Linked DNA regions of Homo sapiens: region 1 is linked to region 2. Evidence: promoter capture Hi-C in 16 types of primary human blood cells and fetal thymus (Javierre and others, 2016). All regions are on one chromosome and are shown on one strand. Each heading gives the region's core, a stretch centred on a gene start or on the middle of the fragment in contact. The rest is flanking DNA. Distances are from core to core; before and after follow the strand shown.

Evidence for each region. The method cuts DNA at HindIII sites, captures the fragments that hold promoters and counts their contacts. A CHiCAGO score of 5 or more calls a contact.
Region 1: a fragment that was not itself captured here is called in contact with the fragment with the promoter of STYXL1 in region 2 in 1 of 17 cell types (fetal thymus); the score reaches 5.6 in fetal thymus.

Annotation. Positions count from the first base shown.
Region 1 is chr7:74,083,282-74,089,435 of GRCh38, forward strand. LIMK1 (LIM domain kinase 1) reads left to right here and starts at 523. Exons shown (of 16, transcript NM_002314.4): 1 at 523-764; 2 at 2,467-2,563. The coding sequence starts at 710. RefSeq lists enhancers at 1-6, 1-580, 1,067-1,336, 1,848-2,447, 2,448-3,045 and silencers at 277-546, 667-716, 827-876. The HindIII fragment of the contact is 1,980 bases long and covers 2,254-4,233 here.
Region 2 is chr7:76,043,366-76,050,063 of GRCh38, forward strand. STYXL1 (serine/threonine/tyrosine interacting like 1) reads right to left here and starts at 4,635. Exons shown (of 9, transcript NM_001317785.2): 1 at 4,297-4,635. MDH2 (malate dehydrogenase 2) reads left to right here and starts at 4,741. Exons shown (of 9, transcript NM_005918.4): 1 at 4,741-4,861. The coding sequence starts at 4,796. RefSeq lists enhancers at 4,108-4,890, 4,336-4,425, 4,536-4,615, 4,891-5,672 and a silencer at 4,866-5,025. The HindIII fragment of the contact is 1,459 bases long and covers 4,145-5,603 here.

The DNA of each region.
Region 1 (6,154 bases), core at 1,994-4,493, 2.0 Mb before region 2:
TCCCCGGGCCCAGCCTGGCCTCAATGCAGGCCTCAGAGAGAGGGACAAAACCCGGCCCGCCTCCCTCCCCTCCCCAAGGCGACCACCAGTGTCCTGGGGGTCCACAGGGCCTCTCCAGCTCTGATCCGAGTTCCCGGCTGCAGCTGGTTTGGGTCTGTGGGGGCCTCGCGCAGGGAAGCGGAGGCCCCTTCTCTAGGCTCCTACATCCTCCTGGCCTGCCCCAGCAGAGCTAGCGGCCCTCCGAGACAGCTGGGCCTCGCAGCTCCCAGCCGAGGCCTGTCGCTGGGAGAAAGAAGAATGAATGAAGGGCGGAAGGGGCGGGGAGGGGCGGGGCGCGCCGCGCCAGCTCGCGGCGCCCCCAGGCCGGGCCGCAGCGGGGCGTGGCCTCTAGAGGCGTGGCCTTGGGCGTGGGGGCGGGGTTTTCTGGTGGGGGCGGGGCCGCGCAGGGCCGTTCCCGCCGCCGGCCGCCCGCGCCCCGCCCCCGTGCCGCAGCTCACAGGCCCCGCCTCGGTCCGCCCCTCCGCTCGCTCCCCAAGCCGCCGCGGCGCCGAGCCGGTTTCCCCGCCGGTGTCCGAGAGGCGCCCCCGGCCCGGCCCGGCCCGGCCCGCGCCCTCCGCCCCCGCCTCCCCGGGCCGGCGGCGGTGGGCGAGCTCGCGGGCCCGGCCGCCCCCAGCCCCAGCCCCGCCGGGCCCCGCCCCCCGTCGAGTGCATGAGGTTGACGCTACTTTGTTGCACCTGGAGGGAAGAACGTATGGGAGAGGAAGGTGCGCGGGCCGCGGGGTGTGGGGCGAGGGCCTGGAGGGGGTGCCCGGGGCAGCGTGGGGCACGGGAGGGGGCCGGGTCTGCCAGGAGGCCGCGCCCCTGCCTCCTCCGGGATGAGCTCGTCCTTACGAAGCCCGCAGGCCCCTCCCTGTCCCCCTCCCGCCCGGGATCCCCCTCCCCGGCCCCCGGCGAGCTGCCCTCCTGCGGGTCTGGGGGCCCCTGGACCCTTTTTCCTCCTCCCACGTCCCCCCGCGAAGGACTCCCAGACACTGCCCACCCCGCGTCGGCCTCCATCCGCGTGCTCTGTCCACCACCCGGGCCTCGCCCTGGGGCCACCCTTTATCCAGTCTCGGAAGAAAGAGCGGCTGGGGAAGCCGCAGCCCCGGGTCCCAGTGGCCGCCGGGCGCCTGCCCGGCTCTGTGACCTTGAGCCAGGCGCTGACTTCCTGGTCCTCAGTTTCCCCTTCTGTACATTTGGAAACTGGGTAGTTGCCCCCCCGGTGTCGGTGATTGGGGGCCAGATGGGTAGAGCGGAGATAGGCGTCCAGGAAGCCGGAGGCCGTGTACTGCGGGAGCCTCATCCACTCTCCCTGTCCGTGCCCCAAACCCGGTGCCTGCCCTCAGTCTTGGCTGGGAGCATGACTCATCCTAACCTCCTCTTTAGCCCCTTCTCCCTCACTGGGGCCCAAGGCGCAGTACTGCACTGCAGTTAGGGTTCAAGGACTCCCCCAGCCTAGGACAGGGTCTGGGGGCCCCTCCTTGGATCTCCTTCGCTGACCTGTCACTTAGATCCACCTGGCCCCAAGGCAGGGCCTGACTCCACACCTCCCCCTGCCACCAACTCTTCCCAGGCCCATGAAAACCTGATTGGGGTAGGGGCCCACCTTCCTGTAGCCCCTGCCTACCTAAGGTACCTGCGTCTTCACAGAGGGTCAGGCTGTTGTGGCCTTGGGACCTAGCTATGTGACTGGGCAAGCCATGCCATCTCTGGGGCTCAGTCTCCCCTTCTGTACAGTGGAGAGGGGCAGGTCTGGGGCATTTTCCAGGGCCCACCAGCTCCAAGGGTGCCAGGCCCCAAGGATGACTAAGCATGCCTGTGGCTGGCTAGAGGAGGTGCCAGGCCTCCCTGGGACAGGTGTCTGGGAGTACCCAGGTCTGCAGCCCCCTCCCCTTGCCAAGCCAGGGCATTCATTGCCAAGGATCTGTTAGGGCCGGCACCTCCAGGCTTCCTGCCCTTGACCTCCCAGCTGGCTTCAGCCCAGGATGCACTAATCCAGCCCTGTCCAGTCCCTGCCTTTGAAGGGCCCTCTTAGTACTTCTTCCTGGGCAGGAGAGGGAAGAAAGGAGGCTGTGATAGGAATGTCACCCACTGCCTTATCCCTAAAGCCACTGCTTCCTTTCTCCTCATTTACCTTGCCAGATCCAATGCTATAGCGGGAGGATGGACCTGATCCTCCTCCTAAGCTGATACATAGGGAAACAGGGCCAGAGAAGCTTGGCAACCTAGTCAGTATCTCAGCAAGACTCAGGCCAGCGCCCTTTCTTCTCCTATTTGGCACAGCGACTGCCCTGCCTGGGCGCTGCACATGTGCAGTGTGCGAGGATTGGTGCAGGTGTAGGTATATGTGGGGTGGGCAGGGCAAGCTGGGCCTGCACCAGATCACACTTCCTGAGAATGCTTCCCAACTCCCTTCCCACCCTGCAGGAAGCGAGTTGCCCGTGTGTGCAAGCTGCGGCCAGAGGATCTATGATGGCCAGTACCTCCAGGCCCTGAACGCGGACTGGCACGCAGACTGCTTCAGGTAGGGTGGGGTGCCCAGGGCCTGTGTTGCCCTAAACAAGGCCTGCCAGAGAGGACAGGCTGGTCAAGGAATGGGGGAGGCCGGGATATGCCTCCTGGTGCCGTCCCCTATTGTGACTTCGTGGCCTTAATTTACCATTTATGACATGAGGTGTTTTGACTAGAAAATCCCTACAGGCCTTCCTGTTGTCATTTTATTTATCTATTTTTTTTTCTTTTTGAGACGGAGTCTCGCTCTGTCACCCAGGCTGGAGTACAGTGGTGCGATCTTGGCTCATTGCAACCTCTTCCTCCTGGGCTCACGCAGTTCTCCTGTGTCAGCCTCTGGAGTAGCTGGGATTACAGGCGTGCACCACCACGCCCAGCTAATTTTTGTATTTTTAGTAGAGACGGGTTTTGCCATGTTAGCCAGGCTGGTCTGAAACTTCTGACCTCAAGTGATCTTCCCACCTCAGCCTCCCAAAGTGCTGGGATGACAGACATAAACCACCGCTCCTGGCCTCATTTTATTTTCTTTTATGTATTTTTCTTTTTTCGAAATGGTCTTGCTCTGTTGCCCAGGCTGGAGTGCAGTGGTGCCATCTCGGCTCATTGCAACCTCCATCTCCCGGGCTAAAGTGATCCTCCTACTTCAGCCTCCCGAGTAGCTGGGATTATAGGTATACACCACAATGCTCAGCTAATTTTTTAAATTTTGTGTAAAGACAGGGTCTCACTATTGAGACCCAGGCTGGTCTTGAACTTGTGACCTCAAGCAATCCTCCTGCCTTGGCCTCCGAAAGTGCTAGGCTTACAGGCGTGAGCTAACGCCTTGGCCTCTGTTGTCATCCTAGATCTCTGAGATCTAAATCTTAGAGAGGATGGGAGAGACCTCCAATTGAGCCAGTGCCTGCAATTCAGCCCCCTGCTGGCACCCAGACAGGGGGAAGAGTTGGAAGGAATGTCCCTCCTGCCTTCTGGGTGTTCATGCTCTTGCAGGGAGGGAAGACAAACCAGGCCTTAAGGGAAACCAGGCCACCCTCAGTGTCTTCCAGGCTGCTTGCGAACATGCATAACCCAGTCACACCAGCCCCAGTGTCCAGACACACACCCACAGGTAGGAAGAAAGTAGGGTCAGGGTTGTGGCGGAGGATAAAGAGTACATGAGGACCTGAAGGTCACCCAGTAGGACCATCCTGAGAAGCCAGGAGCAGGGGTCTACCTGCCTTGAGCCAGAGCAGGGCCAGAGCAGGGGTCTCAAAGGATGTGAGATTTCCTGGGTAGAAAAGTAGAGTGGAGGTGGGGCGTGGTGGCTCACACCTATAATCCCATCACTTTTTGGGGCTGAGGTGGGCAGATCACTTGAGTTCAGGAGTTCGAGACAAGCCTGGGCAATATGGCAACACCCTGTCTCCACTGAAAATACAAAAAATTAGCCGGGCGTGGTGGCGCATGCCTGTAGTCCCAGCTACTCAAGAGGCTGAGGTGGCAGGGTTACTTGAGCCTGGGAGGTGGAGGCTGCAGTGAGCTATGATCGCACCACTGCACTCTAGCCTGGGCAATAGAGCGAGACCCAGTCTCAATTTTTAAAAAAGAAAGAAAGAAAAACAAATGGTGTGGGAGAGAATTACAGGCATAGTCACCAAACAGCAAGGTTCAGGGGAGAAAACTCCATAAAAGGGTAGAAGGTGAAGCTTCTGGGATGCCCAGCAGGGGTCAAGACATCCACCACTAGGACTTTATTTTAGGCTTCTGCCTTGGTTTATTTTTTGGTTTTTGGTTTTTTTGAGACAGTCTTGTTGTGTCGCCCAGGCTGGGGAGCAGTGGCGCGATCCCTCCTCACTGCAACCTCCGCCTCCCAGGTTCAAGCGATTCTCCTGCTTCAGCCTCCCAAGTAGCTGGGATTACAGGTGTGCACCACCACGCCCGGCTAAGTTTTGTATTTTCAGTAGAGATAGGGTTTTGCCATGTTGGCCAGGCTGGTCTCGAACTCCTGACCTCAAGTGATCTGCCCGCCTCAGCCTCCCAAAATGCTGGAATTACAGGCATGAGCCACTGCACCTGGCCTCGGTTTGTTTTTTTGTTTCTTCTTTTCTTTTTTTTTACACAGGGTCTTGCTGTGTCACCCAGGCTGGCGTGCAGTGGTGAGATCATAGCCCACTGTAGCCTCCAGCTCCAACTGGTTCAAGCGATCCTTCTGACTCAGCCTCCCAAAGTGCTGGGATTACAAGCATAAGCCACCATGCCCAGCCTGTTTTTTCTTTTTTAGGAATAACGTCTAACGTTTTCTAACATTCAGTAAGGGACAACCCCTGTTCTAAGTACTTTGCATAGTTAGATATTAGTGCTGTCTTTGTTTTGCCAGAGAGAAAATTGGGACACAGAGAGGTTAATTCTCTTGATGAAAGTCACACAGCCAGTGAGTGAAATGAACACACTCAGTGTGGCTGAAAGGAGACAGACAGCATGCCCTGGGATTCTGCATCAGGTGCTCAGAAAGAGGCCTTCGGGGGGCAAGAGGGCTCTCAACAGGCAGAGGAAACCATCTGCACAGCGGTGGGATGGTGCGGACTGCTGAGGGAACAGGAACAGTTCCCTTGGAAGGAACAGAATAAGCTGAGGGATCCAACAAGAAACAAAGTTGAGACCGATTCGTGAAGGGCCTTGAATGCCAAGATAAGGAGTTTCAGAAGTCAGGATGGGGGTGGTGGCTCATCCCCGTAATCCCAGCACTTTGGGAGGCCGAGGCAGGCAGATCACTTGACCCCAGGAGCTTGAGACCAGCCTGGCCAACGTGGTGAAACCCCCGTCTCTACTAAATATTCAAAAATTAGCCAGGCATGGTGGCACATGACTGTAATCCAAGCTACTCGGGAGGCTAAGGAAGGAGAATCACTTGAACCTGGGAGGCGGAGGCTGCAGTGAGCTGAGATCACGTCACTGCACTCCAGCCTGGGAGACAGAGCGAGACTCCATCTCAAAAAAAAAAAAAAAAAAAAATAGAAGGGAGTCGGCAGAAAGCCAGGGAGGGGCTGGGGTGACATGCTGTTGAAGAATGCCATCCCAGTGGGCCGGTGGTGGTATCTAGGCAGGGAAGGGACTGTCCCAGTAACTCAAGGGTCTGAGCTCATAGGACCTGACCTGGGACAGTGACTGAGGATGGAGAGAATTTCAGGCAGAAGGGACAGTTTTTGGTGAGTATTTGTCATATTGGCTACCATGCATTGAGCACTCTTCATGCTAATTTGTTAAATCTTCATCATAACTCTATGAGGGACTGTATGTGCCCAGTTTGCATGGGAGAAACAGAGATTCCATGCAATCAAGTGCCTCGCTGAAGGTTGTAACATCTAGAGCTGGGACTAAAACCTTCTCACTCCACATCGCCACAGAGTAGGAAAGGCAGGGGCTGGCGGTGGCACATGCCTATAATCCCAGCCCTTTGGGAGGCGGAGGCAGGTGGATCTCTTGAGCCCAGGAGTTTGAGACCAGTGTGGGCAACATAGTGAAACCTTGTCTCTACAAAAAAATTAGCTGAGCATGGTGGTGGTGCCTGTAGTCCCAGCTACTCAAGGGCGCTGACATGGGAGGGTTGCTTGAGCCTGGGAGGTGG
Region 2 (6,698 bases), core at 3,385-5,884:
CCTGACCTCAGGTGATCCACCCACCTCAGCCTCCCGAAGTGCTGGGATTACAGGCGTGAGTCACCGCACCCAGCCGAGAAGCCATTTTAAAGGAACTTTGCCCAAGAGGGCCACCGAGAGGGAAAATGGACCAATGGCATGTGGTGGAGGATTCCAGAAGCCAGGGGCTGAGGGAGGAATTGAAGCAGCAAGACTGAGATGGCCACCTGATCATGGGAACTGGAGGTAAGAAAGACCCCCAGAAGCACTGCATGGGAGAGTCAGTTACAAATTCCCATCAAGCTGAGACAGTAACAAGGCCAGATGTCGAAGGGGCTTTTCTTGCCCCATCTCTACTCTCTTATAACCCCCTCCACCAACACAGGATGCCTCAGAAGCCATAGTTGGCCTGGGCTGGGGTGGGATGGAAGAGGAAACAAAATAAACAGAAGTCAACTACTGTCCTCCTCAAATGTGGGAGCCCAAAGAAAGCTTGAGAGGGGAAGAGAAGCAGCTTTACCTTTGAATTAAATTCCTAGTTTTGATTATTAACATGAACTGGACAGTAAGTCTGTCCTAGTAACCAGACACAATCCAAGGGCAAGCAAAGATTTAAAGACAGAAAGCTGCTGCATGATTGAATTCTACTTCTTGACTGTGGAAACCCTGCTTGTTTAATATAAGTTTCACTTGCAAAACACCAAGTAAAATCAATGCCTACCACACAGTGCTTCATACAGCAGCCAATAAGACTGTTGTTAATTACCTTGGTATTTCCTTAGAGAGAGGCAGATAGGAGCTGAGTGTGAGGCTTTTTATGTTTTTTTCCTTTGAGATAAGGTCTCATTCTGTCACCCAGACTGGGGTGCAGTGGTGCAAACACAGCTCACTGCAGCCTCAAACTCCCAGGCTCAATTCTCCTGCCTTAGCTTCCTGAGTAACTGGGACCACTGGCACATACCACCATGCTTGGCTAATTTTTATTATTTGTAGACAGGGTCTCCTGTGTTGCCCAGGCTGGTATTGAACTCCTGGGCTCAAGCGATCCTCCCACCTTGGCCTTCCAGAGGGGTGGAATTACAGGCATGAGCCACTGCACTGGGCCAAATGTGAGGCTTTTCTAGCAGTCAAGTTGTTTGGGATGGCCCAAGTAGAAGGCTTGGGAGGTAGCGAGTTCCTCTTCTGTGGAGATGAGGACTTGGGAGGGATGTGGAGGAAACTGAATTCCAGATGTGGGAGGGAGCCTGACAATCTGTGATTCCAGTTTATTGCTCATGGTCTCAACTCTCCCCCTCTACAGAGGTGACTTCCGCCCTGGCCTGAGTTTCAATCCCACAGTTCCTTTTTTCCCCCCTTAAATGAGACATATCTTGCTCTGTCACCCATGTCAGAATGCAGTGGCACAATCATGGCTCACTACAGCCTTGACCTCCCCCGATCGCCTGAGCTCAAGCGATTGTTTCATGTCAGCCTCTTGGGTAGCTGGGACTACAAGCACACACCATCACGCCCAGAGAATTTTCGTACTTTTTGTAGAGATGGGGTTTTGCCATGTTACCCAGGCTGGTCCTGAATTCCTGAGCTCAAGTGATCGTCCGCCTTGGCTGCTCAAAGTGTTGGGATTACAGGCATGAACACGGCCCATACCACTGAAAGGTCTATATGGACAACTCAGCATAACTCCCAATTAAGCCCATCTAAAACGGAACTCTTTATTTTTTCTCCTCTCCTTTGGTATAACCTCCTTTATTTTTCTCCTCTCCTTTGTATAACCCGACTTCCCTCTTTATGTATTTTCCACACCTCTTTCTTTCACTCCTCAAACCCAGATGAGCACAGACTGTTACCCATTCTTCCCATGAGACTTCTCCCACACTGGCCCTACCCACTCCATTTCTATGGCCACCACCGTAATTCAGACCTTTGTCATCCATAAAATAGATTCCTAAACAATCTCCCTGAATAGATTCCTAAACAATCTCCATTTTTTTTTTCCTGGGAATTCTTAGCATACAAGGTCAGTCTAATCTTCCTCAAACACAGTTCTGGCAGTGTCACAAAAGCCTGATTGGCCAGGTGCAGTGGCTCACGCCTATAATCCCAGCACTTTGAGAGGCTGACTCGGGCAGATCACTTGAGGTTAGGAGTTCTAGACCAGCCTGGCCAACATGACAAATCCCTGTCTCTGCTAAAAATACAAAAATTAGCCAGGTGTGGTGGTGCACACCTGTAATCCCAGCTACTTGGGAGGCTGAGGCAGGAGAACTGCGTGAACCCGGAGGTGGAGGTTGCAGTGAGCCGAGATCGCGCCACTGCACTGCAGCCTGGGCAACAGCGTGAGGCTCCATCTCAAATAAATAAACAACCTTTGATAAACACTTGCTTCCCAAGAAATGAAATACAAACTTCTCAGCTAACATTCATGGGACCGGCACAATCTAGTTTTTCCCAACCTGCTGTTTCCAGCTGTACCTAAAACCACTCAACTCTCCACAAATTCACTGAGGCCCTTTCAGCCCAGTCGCATGTTGGACAAAAAAAACAGAAGAAAGACTTAGTACCTGGCAAGACTTAATACCTGGCTCTGAGGTGCTCTCAGTTACAAGACAGAGGAGTAAATAATTACCAGAAGATGCAGTCAGTGATAAGATAAACAAAGGACACTGCTTGCCCTAATGTCCCCACTCCAAAATAAATGATCTATTCACTGTCCCCTGAATACTGGCCTATGCTTATTTTTTCCCGCTAGGATTTTATTTGGCCTTTTTTCTCCTCCTTTCCTGTCTAAACATTTCCCATTGTTAAATGCTCAGGCCCTAGTGCCCCTCCTTTGAGAATTCTGATTCCAAGGCAAGGGATCTTTCCCTCCTCTGGAGTTGAATGTTCCATTGAGAAACACCTACTCTTCCAGCATGTCTCAGCTTATCTGCTGTGTGTGTGTGTGTGTGTGTGTGTGTGTGTGTGTGTGTGTGTGTGTGTGTGTGTGTGTGTGTGTGCGCGCGCGCGCGCGCGCGCTTTTGAGCCGGAGTTTAGCTCTTATCACCCAGGATGGAGTACAATGGCACAATCTTGGCTCACAGCAACCTCCACCTCCTGGGTTCAAGGGATTCTCCTGCCTCAGCCTCCTGAGTAGCTGGGACTACAGGCACACGCCACCATGCCCAGCCAATTTTTGTATATTTAGTAGAGATGGGGTTTCGCCACATTAGCCAGTCTGGTCTCAAACTCCTGACCTCAGGTGATCTGCCCGCCTTGACCTCCCAAAGTGCTGGGATTACAGGCATAAGCCACCACACCCGGCTTTTTTTTTTTTTTTTTTTGAGACAGAGTCTTTCTCCGTCGCCCAAGCTGGAGTACAGTGGGGTTATCTCGGCTCACTGCAACCTCCCTCCACCTCCCGGGTTCAAGCGATTCTCCTGCCTCAGCCTCCGGAGTAGTTGGGGCTACAGGTGTACACCACCACGCTGGGCTAATTTTTGTATTTTTAGTAGAGATGGGGTTTCACCATGTTAGCCAGGCTGGTCATGAACTCCTGGCCTCAAGTGATCGGCCCGCCTCAGCCTCCCAGAGTGCTGGGATTACAGGCATGAGCCACCTTGCCTGGGGGTGTTGTTTAATTTTAAAAATATGTATCAGGCCGGGCGCGGTGGCTCACGCCTGTAATCTCAGCACTTTGGGAGGCCGAGGCGGGTGGATCACGAGGTCAGGAGTTCGAGACCAGCCTGACCAACGTGGTGAAACCCCGTCTCTACTAAAAAAAAAATACAAAAAATTAGCCAGGTGTAGTGGTGCGCTAATCCCAGCTACTCAGGAGAATGAGGCAGGAGAACCACTTGAACCTGACAGGCAGAGGTTGCAGTGAGCCAAGATCGCGCCACTGCACTCCAGCCTGGGCTAGAGAGACTCCGTCTCAAAAAAATAAATAAATTCATACATTTAAGTAATAAACTCATTGTGAGCAAGGAATTCTACTCGACTTTCTGTCTGCGTAAACTCTACAAATCCACTTGGCCTCAGCCACAGTGTCTTTATTCGTAAAGCAGAAACAGTGGGACCGTCAGAGCACTGCCGGGCAGGCGAGAGAAGACAGGAACTGTATGACCACGGAAGTTGTTGTCCCTACAACCTATTTGCTCATCTGGAACACAGAATAGTGGTCCTCTAAAGCTTGCAGGGCTGGAGGTCGCCATTATCAGCAGTGGTGTCACTAAACCTGAACCCAAGGGTCTCTGCAACTTGGGAAACGACGGCCCGGATCTGAGGAGATGGCCCCTTCCTCCCACCCCGCCTAAGGACTCTCAGCCTCCCTGACCCTACCTTTCCGGAGCTCAGAGTCCCCTCTGGCCTCCAAGGGCAGAAGGAATGGGTTTGGCTGAGGTCGGGGGCTCGGGTCTGGGACGCGCTCCACCTCCCCGGCTGCGCGACTATGGCCAGGCTCCCTGTCGGAGCCTCTGCCTGGGGCCCCACCTGGAAAAATGGCTCCTCTAAGGCGCTTCCAGCCTAAAGCCCGTCCTCTTCCACCTCTTGGGTGCAGACTGGCCCTCCCACTCCGACCGCAGGTCCCCCACCGGCCACACAGACGGCTACGCTAGAACCCAGCCAAACACCGGGGTTGCCAGGATGGTCCCACAGCTTTCCTTTCCGACTCCCGGAAGTGGCCGTGATCTCACGAGATCCCGGAGGCGAGCGCGACCGGAAGTCCGGTCACTCTCGCGAGGCCCCAGAGAGCAGGCGCTGGGCAGTGTGGAGGTCGTTGGAGTCACTTCCCCGTCACCAGCTCCTGTGCCTGCCAGTCGGTGCCCCTCCCGCTCCAGCCATGCTCTCCGCCCTCGCCCGGCCTGCCAGCGCTGCTCTCCGCCGCAGCTTCAGCACCTCGGCCCAGGTAGGCCAGACGAGGGGCGGCCTGCAGGCGGAGGCCCCCCGGCCCGGGCCACGTGCGTCCCCGGTTCGCGGGCAGCTCTGACCCTCTCCAGGCCAGCCTGGACCGCAGGGATGCCCGGCACTGGCTGGAGACTGTGGCGCCCGGGGCAGGCCCTGACACTGGCCTGGAGGTGCGGGGGAGAAAGCCGGGGAAAAGGGGGCGAGGTAGTCCCGCTCCAGGGCCGGTCCATTTGTCAGGGTTCCCCCAGGTCTCCCAGATTTCCCAGAGGACCTGCTCTTGGCTTGCACGCCTTCAAGGTTGGGAAACCAGGGCTCTGCATCTGAAAGTAAACTTACGTTTTTTTCTGCAGCGTTCCATTGCTTTGACGTAGCTAATCTCCTTGCAGCATCCGTGTGAGTTGTGCGTGAATAAAAGAAATCGTATACTTCCTAATTCCATAGTATGGACAAACCGAGGCTAGAGAACTGGGCCAGGGTTACAGTCATTTGGCCAGAGGATTAGAATTCAGCGCTTCTGACCTGAAGACGGCTTCCTCTTAACCTTTTTGGAGGATCTCTCCTGCTGTGGGCGGACTGAGCCTGCCGCCAGGTGTCTTAACAGTGCTTGACTTGGCCCGCGACCACTTAAGCCTAGGAGCCTAGGCTATTTTTAGCCATCTTCTAGAATGGTGGTTCTTAAACTCTGCAGTGTGTCAGAATCACCAGAAAGCTAATAAAAAACAGACGTCTGGGTTCATTGAAGAAGCTTAAGACTGCGGGGGGGGGGGGGGGGGTCCGCATTTTTACCAGGTGAATCTAATTAAACCTAATTTTGAGAACCCAGGAGGTGCTCGCATTGCCTTTTAATTACGACGCCCAAGAGGGAGGTAATTTTAAAGGGGAATCCAAATTTATCATCGAAGTTCTCGAGTTTCCTGTACATCCAGTTCATTTGAAAAATAAATACAAATGCTCCTGGATTGATGGCTACTTCCCATACCCATCGCAAGTTGGTAATATCCTAAGTCAAAAGGCGAGTTTAACTTTGTGTATTTTCAACTTGCAATGGGTTCCCACAGGCAACCCCATTGTAAGTTGAATGTACCAAATGCTTTTGCGCTGCGGTGAAGTGGGGGCCCAGCTGTATACAGATAAGTACATTAAGTACCTGTGCTTGCCAACAACTATGCTGGGTGCTGCAGGGGATACCAAGATAAGTGAGAAGTGACACTTGATATGGGACAGGAATGAGTAAACTTAGGACAGGTGGAAGCGATGAAGGTCTTAGGGAATGAGTAAACTTAGGACAGGTGGAGGCGATGAAGGTCTTAGGGAATGAGTAAACAGGACAGGAGGGATGAGGTGTGGGGGAGGGGCAGCCAACCAAAGAGAGGACAGGGGTGTCCAGGGAGAGGTTGAGTTTTGGTAGGACCTTCAGATATCCGACATATTTATTGAGCTAGGTACTGGAAATACAGCGGTGAACAAAACACAGAAGTCCCTGCTCTCACGGAAATTACTAGATATTTTACTTATTGCCCCACTCATTATAAAGTATCTTAAAATAGTGATGAACATGCAAGAAAAATGGGGATTGTAGGGTGCTTGTGTTAGGGAAGAGGGTACCAATTTTATTTACTTTTTTTGATGCAGTGCCTCGCCCTGTCGACAGGCTGGAGTGCAGTGGCGTGATCTCGGTTCACTGCAGCCTCCACCTCCCAGGTTGGAGCGATTCTCCTGCCTCAGCCTCCCGAATAGCTGGGACTACAGGCGCGCACCACCGTGCCCAGCTAATTTTTGTGTTTTTAGTAGAGATGGGGTTTCACCATGTTGGCCAGGATGGACCTGACAGAGTCCCA